Linked DNA regions of Homo sapiens: region 1 is linked to region 2. Evidence: promoter capture Hi-C in human tissues and cell types (Jung and others, 2019). All regions are on one chromosome and are shown on one strand. The core of a region is centred on a gene start or on the middle of the fragment in contact, and the rest is flanking DNA. Distances in the headings are between cores, read along the strand shown. Region 1 has its middle 160 kb from the start of RPL34-DT. Region 2 holds the start of RPL34 (ribosomal protein L34).

The links. Contacts are between HindIII fragments. The study calls those that stand out against the background at their distance.
Region 1: a fragment that was not itself captured here is called in contact with the fragment with the promoter of RPL34 in region 2 in 1 of the 25 tissues and cell types used here (heart right ventricle).

The regions. Positions count from the first base shown.
Region 1 is chr4:108,454,551-108,460,535 of GRCh38, forward strand. No RefSeq gene overlaps it. Among named protein-coding and RNA genes, the nearest start is that of RPL34-DT, 160 kb to the right of the region's middle. The HindIII fragment of the contact is 5,912 bases long and covers 1-4,389 here.
Region 2 is chr4:108,616,438-108,622,199 of GRCh38, forward strand. RPL34 (ribosomal protein L34) reads left to right here and starts at 4,139. Exons shown (of 5, transcript NM_001319236.2): 1 at 4,139-4,163; 2 at 5,514-5,587; 3 at 5,668-5,762. The coding sequence starts at 5,523. It overlaps RPL34-DT (RPL34 divergent transcript), which reads right to left and starts at 4,020. Exons shown (of 4, transcript NR_026968.1): 1 at 3,871-4,020. RefSeq lists enhancers at 3,677-4,876, 4,102-4,151. The HindIII fragment of the contact is 5,652 bases long and covers 3,219-5,762 here.

The DNA of each region.
Region 1 (5,985 bases), core at 184-2,683, 160 kb before region 2:
TGACATGCCACAGTGGGTCTCTGTGAGTCTCTGTGAGTCTGACTTCTCAAGCATCTCACTGGGCTTGGATGAGGGGCAGGAGGGCGGCCCATCTGAGGAATGGTTGGTTGTCAGACAGGGTGGGAGTGCAGAGGGCCAGGCACTGACTGACACCATATTTTAAACCAATAACAGAGGGAAATGGAAAACAAATGAGGACTCTTTAGGAAGCTATGATCTACTTAGTGAGCTACAGATGTGTAAGGAACAAACCCTTCATTCATATTTTTGGTGGGCTCTTCATATTCCTCTTCCTTGCTATTATATGGGCATGCACTGGCTTCTCAACAGCTGTTCAAAACTCTCTATTCTCTTCAAGGTTTGGGATTCAAGACCCAGATTACCCACACCTGCTTACATGAGACAATCTCCTACCTCACTGAAGAAATCGAGGTCATCCGGTGAGAATTCCTCCAACTTTCCTCCAACATAATCATCCTTGTCAAACCTCATTCTTACTGAGGTTGCTCTGTTGTGAAAGGGACAATCCTTTCGCAAGGTGAAACCCCTGTGTCCTTAATCACATTCCCTTGCCCTCTCCTCCAACACCATAAATCATCCCCTTACAGTCTTAGTCCTCTCCCTCTCCACTGGTTCTTTTCCATTTGTCCTCAAATAGGATCAAATATATTGCATCCCTCAAATAAACAAGCAAGCAAAATAAAATCTTTTTCATAACCACATTACCTTATTTCTGAATATGCTCTTCTCCCTCTCTTTGCCCCTACAGTCAGCCTGCCCTCATTGCCAAGCAGATTCTGTCCTCACCATTCTGCTAAGAATCTTCTGGTGGTTTCCCTCCTCCATGACATTCTTCTGGGCTTCGTCTGATAAGACTCTCTACAGGGTTGAATATTGTTTCCTCTTCCTACCCTTACTTGAAACTTTCATGTCCCAGCCTTGCAGGTTCCTATTCTTGTTCAGGATTATTTTCCCCTAGGTCTCTTCTACTGGCTCTGCTTCCTTTGCCCATCCCCAGTCCTCTTCTCTGTATACTCTTTCTAGATGGTCCCACCCTCTTCACTGGCTTTAACCATCATCCTGATACCAGTGACTTCAAGTCCTATTGCTGAAACTTAACTCCCTAAGCTTTACCAGTTGCTCATTGGACAATTTCGCCTGGTATTCCATAGGCCAGCATTCCAAAATATAAGTTATAAGGAGAGATGGGATATTTGCAAGGTGTCAAAATATCACCCCACAAACAACTTGATAATTGCAAAGAGGAAAATGTATCTTCAAAATGAAAATATGTGATGGCCACTACCTTAACCAAGTGATCAAATATACTATCACTAATTGTGGACAATCTGCCATTTGATACCTGCTGAGGGGATAAATAGAAAGTATGTGGCAATACCTGTAAGTTATTCTTGCCAATGATGTTTAACCTGAATGTAATCAAGTCTTTTAGACCTAACTTGCTGTTTGTATAAAACACAAGGGAGAGAGTAAAAAGCTAAAGGATACCACAAAGCAACAATCAGGCAAATCCAGATTGTGTGATCTCTATAGGTTGATTGGCCTGGTCTCTTCAAAAAGACAATAAGAGTCAATATCATTTTTAAAAATGGAGACTGTTCTGAGATAAAAGAACTAAAAGAGATAACAGTCAAATGCAATGCATAAAGCGTGATTGAATCTTGCTTTGAAACAACCAGCTATAAAAGATATTTTGGGTATAATGTAGAAAATTTGAAGACAAGCTTTAAATTAGCTAATATTAGAGAAATAATGTAAATTTTCTTAAATGTTTTATGGTATTGTGCTTTTGGAGGAGGATTTCCTTATTATTGGGAGATGCATGCTGAAGCATTTAGGGATGAACTTTTGTGTTACCTGCAACTTACTTTCAAACGTTCTGCAAAAATAAACATCTGCATGTGTGTATAACTCAAATACAGCAAAGCATCAATAATTTTTTAATTTAGGGGGTAAGTGTGGGAATGTTGAATGTACTTTCCTTCAACATTCTGGCATGTTTTAAAATTTTCATAACAAAAAAGTAGAAAATATGAAGGGAAAATGAAGTAGGCAAAAAACAAAAAAAGTAGAGAAAGAGTAGCCAAAAACTATAAATATAAATTTAATACTTTTCTTCTGCCTCCCCCTTCCCTATTTTTTCTATTCATAATTTACCAAGTAGATGAAGCTAAAAATCTTAGCATCATCTCTAACTTCTCTTTTCCTCTTCAGATCTCCTACTTCCTTCCCTCCTATCATCTGGTCTTTATCTCTCCATATCTTGAGTCTCTGTACCACCCTCCACCATTGCTGCCACACTGCCCTCATGGGTCCTCCATCATGAATCACCTGGACTTCCACCCCCCGGGCTTAATCTCCTCCACCATCAGTCCATTTTCCCTATTCACTCCCCTGATGAAACCTTTATGCAAACTTCCACTGCCTGGGAAATAAAATCAAATTCCCTGAAATAAAACTATTAAAGGATAACATTGGAATGGAATCTAAAAGTAAGGACAAGAGGGAAGTCAAATTGACATCTAGCAACACCCTCAGGCTTTTGACTGCAAAGCTAGAATTTTGATTCCTAGGCTGCCTCACTCCAGGCTTCATTTTGTGCAGAGACAGCAAAGAAGATAGGCCTAGGAAAAAGGATGGTGTCTTCTTAAGGAAACTTGAACTGTCTACCTGAAAAAAGAACCAGGTATGGATCAACCAAGTAGTGTTCTGGATTTTTAAGGTCTATAAAAGAGAGACAGTACCTTTTAACTACCAAGGCCATGACTTCAGATGCTCAATGAAAGACTCATTTTACTGACTTCAGTAAGTGGTTTATAACACTCTTTCAGTGAAGGTGAGGGAAGCAAACACTCTCATACATTGTTAGTATGAGTGTAAATTGGTACAGTCACCATGGGGGGCAATTTTCTTTTATACTCTTAGATCCAGGTGAGGTCACTTTGGAAAATTTGTCCACCAGATATACTTGCTGCTATGCTTTTAATGAATCCCCTCCAAAACTTAGGTGTTGCCAATGTGGTTGTATTAAGAGATGAGGCCTTTAAGACGCGACCAGGCCATGAAGGTGCCACCCCTATGAATGGAATTAGGTGCCATTATAAAGGTGTTTGGCAGAGGGAGTTGTTTCTCTCTTGCCCTCTGCCTTCTACCATTTGAGGCATGGAAATAAGGTCCTCACCAGATGCTGGTGCCTTGACCTTGTACTTACCAGCCTTGAGAACTGTGAGAAATAAATTCCTGTTCTTTTTTAATTACCTAGTCTTGGGTGTTCTGTTACAGCAGCACAAAATGAACTGAGACATTTGCACATATGCAAAATGATGTATGGTATATATAATTCTGAATTCTGCTATGTCATTCATTAAGACATTTTTTCTCAATTGGAAAAATATTGAAGTAAGCAAAACCTCCACCAATAGCGGACTAGTTAAATAAATTATGGTACTTCAGCCTAAAGGAATATTATCGGTTAATGTAAAGAATTGTGAAGAACTCTATGCACACATCTCTGTAAGACGTATTGCGACATGAAAAATGCAAGGTGCAGCACCATGTGTATAGTGCTCTAAACTTTATGGTAAAATGTGAGAAAATAGAGAATAGGTGCTTGAGAATAAAAAAGTCAAAAATAATGCAGCAATATTAAGTGTGAAAATTATCCACCACCTCTAAGGTTAGAAAAACACAGGGAAGATGTTGGTGTTATCATAACCTAGAAACTTGAAGGGATAAGCACATGGAGCTGGGACTCATACCTCTGAGAAGGAGAACCACCGGGCTGGTGCTGACATCTCTGATGGGAGTGGTGGGAGACTATCTTAGTCTGTTTTGTGTTGCTATAACAGAATACCACAGACTGGGTACATTTATAAAGAAAATATATTTATTTCTTATAGTTATGAAGGCTGGGAAGTCCAAGGTTTAGGATCTCACATCTGGCAAAGGCCATCTTGCTATGTCGTCCCATGGCAGGAGGTGAAAGGGCAAGAGAGCACATTTGCCAGAGAGGAAGGGGGCCAAAGTCATCCTTTATCAGGAACTCATTCCCACAATAACTAATCCATCCTGGCAATAATGACATTAATTGATTTATGAGAGCAGAGCCCTCATGGCCTAATCCCCCCTTAAGGGTCCCACCTCTCAACACGGCTGCACTGAGAATCAAATTTCCAGCCCCTGTGAACTTTGGGAGACACATTGAAACCATAGCAGTATGAAACCACATTGAAACTGAGACTGGTTCTGGGAGTGCAAGTACAAGCTGGAGATAGGAACAAATTGCTCCACCATGCTTCCCCTTTCTGCCTTTCAGTCTTCCTCTATTACTCCCTATTGGCAAAATCTAACAGAGAACGAGCTGACAAAGGAAAAATGTAGTTTCCTGAGTCCCAGCATGGAGTGTAGAAGGATGGGTTTAAAGCTGAGAGGTGATAGCTTAATAACTAGCACAGTAGATTCAATAAGAATGGCCAAGGTGGACATAGGATCATCATGTGGCTGTTGGAATTAGTGCATTTGCAAGTGATCATGCCTTTCCGCCATCCTCTAGACCTGCCCCTGCCCACTATAGCCTGGGATTAGCACTGGCACCAGGAGTGAAGTCCCGATTCACACCAGTATATTATGTCTTGTCTGTGGACCAGAGCCTCTGTGGGACTTTTGGAAAACATTATTTTTTTATTTTTTTGAGACAGGGTCTCACTCTGTCACCCAGACTAGAGTACAGTGGTGCAATCTTGGCTCACTGCAGCCTCCACCTCCTGGGCTCTAGTGATACTTCCACCTCAGCCTCTGAGTAGCTGGGGCTACAGGAGCACACCACCAAACCCGGCTAATATTTTTGTATTTTTGGTAGAGATGGGGCTTCACCATGTTGCCCAGGCTGGTCTAAAACTCCTGAGCTCAAGCGACCCAGCACAAACATTATTTTTATTTACTCTTCCAATATCATTTGTGATTAATAATACTGTCAGTGCATTACAAGCAAGAAAGTTGAGTAAGAAAAATAAATATTTCTAAATAAAGGATCTCCGTCCTCCTCTTCTCTCCTGCGATTTCTCCCTCCTACTCAGTCTGTCAGACAATGGAGGGTTAGTTGAACCAAACAAACAAGTGGTTTGAGCCACTCACTTGGAAGCACCCATTGGACCTTATTTGGGATGGATGAGGTGGCCTGGCATAGTCTTGGGGGAAATAAATTGGGACCTGCTCCTTAATCCTAAAGTGCCTGGCCTCAGGAAAACTGACATCTCAAATGCCTTCCTGTCTCCACTCTCCAGTTTCCTTTTTCCTGCACCCATCTTCAGGTGTCCAGTCCTGAAGGATGGCCCTGTCTCAGCAGCCAAATGAGATTTGCAAGAGGAAAGACAACAGTTCCCACCATCTTCTTGAGTCAATAGCTGAAGCTGAAGGCAAATAAAAAGCCCTGTGATGCAATTCCAAAGGAAATGCTTAGAGGAGTGGGTTTCACATGTCTCCTAGAAAGGCAGAATTTGTCTATCCCAACAAGTTTTTAAAACATGTTTGTTAATCACATCAATGCCTTGCCAGCTCCTCCCTGCCCCTTAATGTTCTCTATTCAGGTCAAAGAATATCCTCCTTGCACCGCCCTTCTCCCTGTGACTTGGTGATTAGAGGGACGACTAATTTAAGTGCATGTCCTCTTATCTTGAGGCAATATTTCACAAAGGAAAGTCTTAAAAATCCAAGATAAACTTATTTTTATAATAGCTATGATGCCAAATAAATGGCGAGCAGCCCTTTACTGAGTTTTATAGAGTAGAAATATCTTCAAAACAGTAATAAATTAACAATAATAAACAATAATGAATTAACCAAGACATAACATTTGCCCTTCAAGTGTCTCAGCTGGATATATAAACAACAGTTGTGCCCTCTTTAAAAAAATCTCATCATAAAAAAATGCAAACTTACAAAATAACCAAATTAGCAATTGATTAC
Region 2 (5,762 bases), core at 2,889-5,388:
CCAATAGAGTATGATTGAAGTGATGCTATGTGACTTCCAAGGCCATGCATCTTCTGTTGTTTCTCTTACAATGCTTTTTTCCTAGATGCTTTCTCTTGAGAACCTACCTCCCAGAACCAAATTGCCATTTGTGAGAATTCTAAGCCTTATAGAAAGGCTATATGTAGTTGCTCTGGTTGACAGTTCCATATGAGAGCCCAGCCTTTGAAGCAGCCCAGTCCAGGCATTAAACTAAAAAGTGTTCAGATAATTCTACCTTCTACCCCCACCCCATGATGATTAATTTCTTTTTTTTTTTTTTCAGATGGGGTCTCACTCTGTCACTCAGGTTGGAGTGCAGTGGTGCCATCTCAGCTTACTGCAACCTCTGCCTCCCAGGCTCAAGTAATCCTCCCACCTCAGCCTCCTGAGTAGCTGAGACCACAGGTATGCACCACCACACCTGGCTAACTTTTTTGTATTTTTGGTAGAGATGGGGTTTTGCCATGTTGCCCAGGCTGAACTCAAGCAATCTGTCCACCCTGGCCTCCCAAAGCACTGGGATTACAGGTGTGAGCCACCACGCCCAGCCTGATGATTAATTTCATGTGTCAACTTGACTGGGCTAAGAGATGCCCAGATAGCTGGTAACATTATTTCTGTGGGTCTGTGAAGGTGGCTTCAGAAAAGATTAGCATTGGAATCAGTACACTAAGTAACGAAGATTGCCTTCACAATGTAGGTGAGTATCATCCAATTTGTTGAGGGTCTGAATAGAAAAACATGCGGAGGAGAGTGAATTTTCTCTCTGCTTAAGCTGGGACATTCATGGTCTCTGTTCTTGAATATCAGCACTCCTGGTTCTTGGGACTCTGGACTCAGACTAGGGCTTATACGACCAGCTGTCCTGGTTTTCCAGCTTGCAGATGGCAGATTGCAGGGCCTCTCTGCCTTAATCACATGAGCCAATTCCTATAATAAATAAACAAATAAATGTATACCCTATCAGTTCTGTTTCTCTAGAGAACCCATGCACACCTTAGCTGTTCAAGTTACCCCCCAGTTGAGGCTCCAATCATTACATAGTAAAGGCAAACTATTCTCATTATACCATGTAGAAATTCCTGATCCATAGAATCCATGAGCATACTAAAATGATTATTTTATGCTTAGTGGCATAAAGTACTGAAAGCAAGAAAATCAAGAAAAAACAACTGCCAATAACGAGTTCTATTTTTAGCATAACAAAAGCTGTTGGTGTCTTGCAACACATTCCTTCATTCCACTTCTAATTTTGGCTTCCTTTGTAGTCTACTGATTAGTAATCATAATCACATGTACAAAACCCCTTAAAATTTTTTTTTTAGAGACAGGATCTCTCTATGTTGCTCAGGCTGGCAACTTCAGTGGAAGTGCAGTGGTGCAATCTTGGCTCCCTGCAACCTCCACCTCCCAGGCACAAGTGATTCTCGTGCCTCAGCCTCCTGAGTATCTGGGATTACAGGCACCTGTCACCACGCCCAGATAATTTTTGTATTTTTAGTAGAGACGGGGTTTCGCCATGTTGGCCAGGCTGGTCTTGAACTCCTGGCATCAAGCGATCCACCTGCCTTGGCCTCCCAAAGTGCTGGGATTACAGGGATGAGCCACCACACCCGGCCTAAAGAATCTCATTTGTTTTTTTAATCTGTCTTTGTTCTCTGTTCATTAATTTCTGTGTGCACTTAATAAATATTTTACAAATTTTTGTGAAATTAAAATAAGGTGAACCTATCATACTTTTTTTGGCTTGGACTGGGAAACTTTGAGGTTTAACATTTTTTTATTTAAGGGTTTTTTGATAAAAGCTATTAATTGTAATGTGGTCAGATTTATTGGTCTTTTCTGAGTTTGTGCTTTTTGTGCCTTGTTTAAAAAATCCTCTTCTACTCCAACGTCTATAAGATAGTCACCTATATTTCCTAATAAATTAAAGCCTTATTATTGACTCATTTAAGGTTTTTTTTTTCAGTGTAGAGTGACTTAAGGATACAATTTTTTCTTTCCATATGTATAACCATTTTTCCCAACTTCATTTACTGAATAGTCACCAATCTTTCCCCACCAATCTGATATATTACCTTTGTCATATACCAAAGTTTCATACATTTATTATTATTATTATTATTATTGAGATAGGATCTCATTCTGTTGCCCAGGCTGGAGTATGGTGGCACAATCATGGTTCACTGCAGCCTCAAACTTCTAGGCTCAAGTGATCCTCCAGCCTCAGCCTCCTGAGTAGGTGGGACTAAAGGTGTGTGCTACAACACCTGGCTAATTAAAAAAAAAAAATTTGTAGAGATGGGCGTCTCGCTATGTTGCCCAGGCTGATCTTTAACTACAGGTCTCAGTGATCTTTCTGTATCAGCCTCCCGAAGTGCTAGGATTAACAGGCATGGGCCACTGTACCTGGCTGTCTTTGAAGTTTTTAATAAGATTGCCATATCTCTCTCAAGACTGATCAAGAAAAAATGCAAATACAAATTTAAAGAGAGGGAAAAATAGTATTATGGAACTGGGTTAAGTACCTTAAGGGAAAACTACAACAATGAGACCACTATTCTTATCTACTTGGGTGGGGGAAGGCACGGACAGAGACGTAAACAACAGCATAGTGTGCCAAGGGCTCCCATCTCCTGTTCTCTTCTGCTCTGCAAAGTCTCTCTTAAAATATAGAGAACATATTGCAAGTAAATACATTCATTAGTGCATTTATTCAAAAACCACATTTGTCTCTCTATGCAAGCTTCCATCTCAATGCCTGGCACAGAGACGAAAAGGATTTCAGAGGACAAAAATCAAAGGACTGGAAAGGAGGGAAGTAGCTGATGACAAGGTCGGGGGAGAAGCAGCTATTTGAGAGTGAGCAGAGGGAAGGATATAACCAGAGCCTTCCATCTGGTGTTGTGACAAAGATGGCAGTGATGTGAGGCTTGATAGAATCAATAGGCCTCACAGTTCAAGACAGACTACATGCCCTCAGTCACTTGCCTGCTTTCTTGGTTTGCTAGATGGATTAGAAATACTAGAAGGAAAGTTGAGTGGGTACTGGGATATCCTATCCAAATCCTCTCTTCTGGGGCAATGCAGCTGCCTCACAGCAACCACGTTGTGGATCACCTGACCCCGCCTTTCTCAGCTTCCTGGAGGTGCATTCTAAGAGCGCTCCCCATAAGCCAACACTCAAGTCTCTTCGAGGTGTGTTTCCAGGGAGCCTGATCTAAGATTAAAAACTTAAAGGCCCCTTTTAGAATTGTCTTTTACAGCCCAGGCAAAGAGTTCTTTACTTTTTTAGAGGTCATGAATCCCTTTGACAAGGTGATGAAAGCCAGGGACCCTCTTCTCAGAAAAATACACACGTGCGCTTAATGTAAAATTTTACATACTGTTTTAAAGGTTAAACTTTACCACCCATGAAAAGCCTCAAGTAGTTCTTTGTACATAATCATAAGATTAGCAACCATTTACTGAGCACTTCCTCTCTATAAGACCCTGTGCTAAGTGCTTTAACTTCATAATGCCTTTGATCATGACATAACATGGCACGGTAGTTCCTAATATCTTCCTTTTAGAGATTTAAGGGCTTGCTCAAAGTAACATAGCTAATAATTAGCAGACACTGGATTAAAATCCCAATTTGTTTGTAAAGCTTGTGCTCTGAATAAATGACAAGGAAAGAGAAGGGAAGGTTGAAGAAGGGAAGGTTCTTGAAGGTCCCTGGTCCTTGAAGGTCCCTTAACCATAAATGTCAAGAGTTGGGATTTAAACCCAGGTCTAACGCCAGAGCTGGCGCCCTTTAGATTAAAAGTGCAGTGTCCATGACAACGAAAGAAGTTGATTTTGTCCCACCTTTGCTCTTTGCGGCTTTTCATTTGCGTTTGTTTCCACAGCGATTTCCAATAGATTTCTGCGTGGCCTTGACACAGACAGCTAGTGTGAATCCCCGCCCACAGAGGGGCGGCACGTTGGTTGCCGTACAACGTGGTGGTTCCCTGCATCTCTGCCCACGTCGGAGAGGTGCGTCGGCTTCCGTACAACACGGATACTCTCTCTCTGACGCAACTTCCTGTCCTGCGCAATTCTATTTGACCTTTGAACTGGCAAAGGCTTTTTTCTTCCTCTTCCGGGGACGTTGTCTGCAGGTATGGATGTTGTTCTCTTTTCCCTGTCTTTATTTCCTTACCAATCGGCTGCCATCCGAGGAGCTGAGGAAGCCTAGAGCTCTCAGAAGCAGTCCTTTGAGCTGGTGTAGGGGTAAGGGGCACAACAGGGAGGTTGGTGGTGAGGAAGTTCCTTACTTTGATCTTTGGAAATCCCTTGTTCCTGGTGGCACCTCCAAAGCCGTGAGTAGCCACAGCTCACCACCCGGGACTTTGCTGCATTCCAAGTGTAGCGTTTGGAGACTAACGAGTTGTGGTTTGGCGGTTTGAGTCTGGAAAATCGCCAAACGTTTTCATATTTTACACCCACGTTTTCACAGCACGCCTGTACGTGTCCTTAGTCTTTGGGAGGGCAGGGTCCGGCGAGTTCGGGTGGTTTCGCTATTTGGCTTCTGCGTCCAAGGCCCATGTCAAGGAAGAGAAAAATGTGTTAGAAGTTTCTGTCTTGCTTTTGGAGATGCAAACAGAATAATGGCTTCATAAATCACTCGCACTGGTTTTACGTGTCAAGTTTTGGTGTCTGGTAATTCTGTTTTAGTTTAATTTTAGTGAGAGGCTTGTGACAACAAATGAGGTGGTTACAAGGGGTGGAATGGGAAGATTAAATTAGTTCAAGTATTGATTATGTTTTACGTTGGGTAGTTCCCTTAACGAAGTTGCTCGTATGCATATCTGTATAACCGATTTGCTAAATAACATCACGATGTTTCCAGAAGTGGGAAGAAAGCAGGTGCCATAACCCAAAGAAACTTGTGTAATATCAAAATTAGTATTAAAGGGTATGCCTTTACGCAGGTGGTGCTTTAGGGCAAGACATTGAACCCTGATATGTGCCAGGCATTGTGTTGGGACGGATAGCCCACGTCGTTTAATCCTAATGACAGCTGTATAAAGTAGACAGAATTCCCATGTTAGAGATAAGGAGGCTAGCTCCTTGCCCTTTATATTCCCAGTAAATGGCATAGCTAAGGATTCGACTTCAGAGCTCACTTTTTGTGCTCTTTGTTTAAAGCGGTGTTTCTCCAACTGGGCTCGTGGCACTTTTCTGGACACCACTCCAAACAAAATTAGACTCTGAGTAAGGAGCCTGGTCATCAGAACGTTAAGGAAGTGCCACGTTTGATTACCATCAGGAAAGCTAACATTCTTGGCCTCTTGTTTATCAGTCACCTTTAAATACAAGTAGTTTTAAAATGTGGAATAATACATCTTAATTTAAGGGTGTTACATACAAGGATATGTATGTGAATGAAATAGACCACATGATACTGTTTTGAGATTTTATTTACTTTTACAATGGAAAGATTTGATGTTACTCTATTCTTAATTTAGGCACTCAGAATGGTCCAGCGTTTGACATACCGACGTAGGCTTTCCTACAATACAGCCTCTAACAAAACTAGGCTGTAAGTATTTCTGAAAATTTTAAGTATATATTGTCATTTACTCTACAAAATGCTGACCTACTGACTGTTTCACTTTCTAGGTCCCGAACCCCTGGTAATAGAATTGTTTACCTTTATACCAAGAAGGTTGGGAAAGCACCAAAATCTGCATGTGGTGTGTGCCCAGGCAGACTTC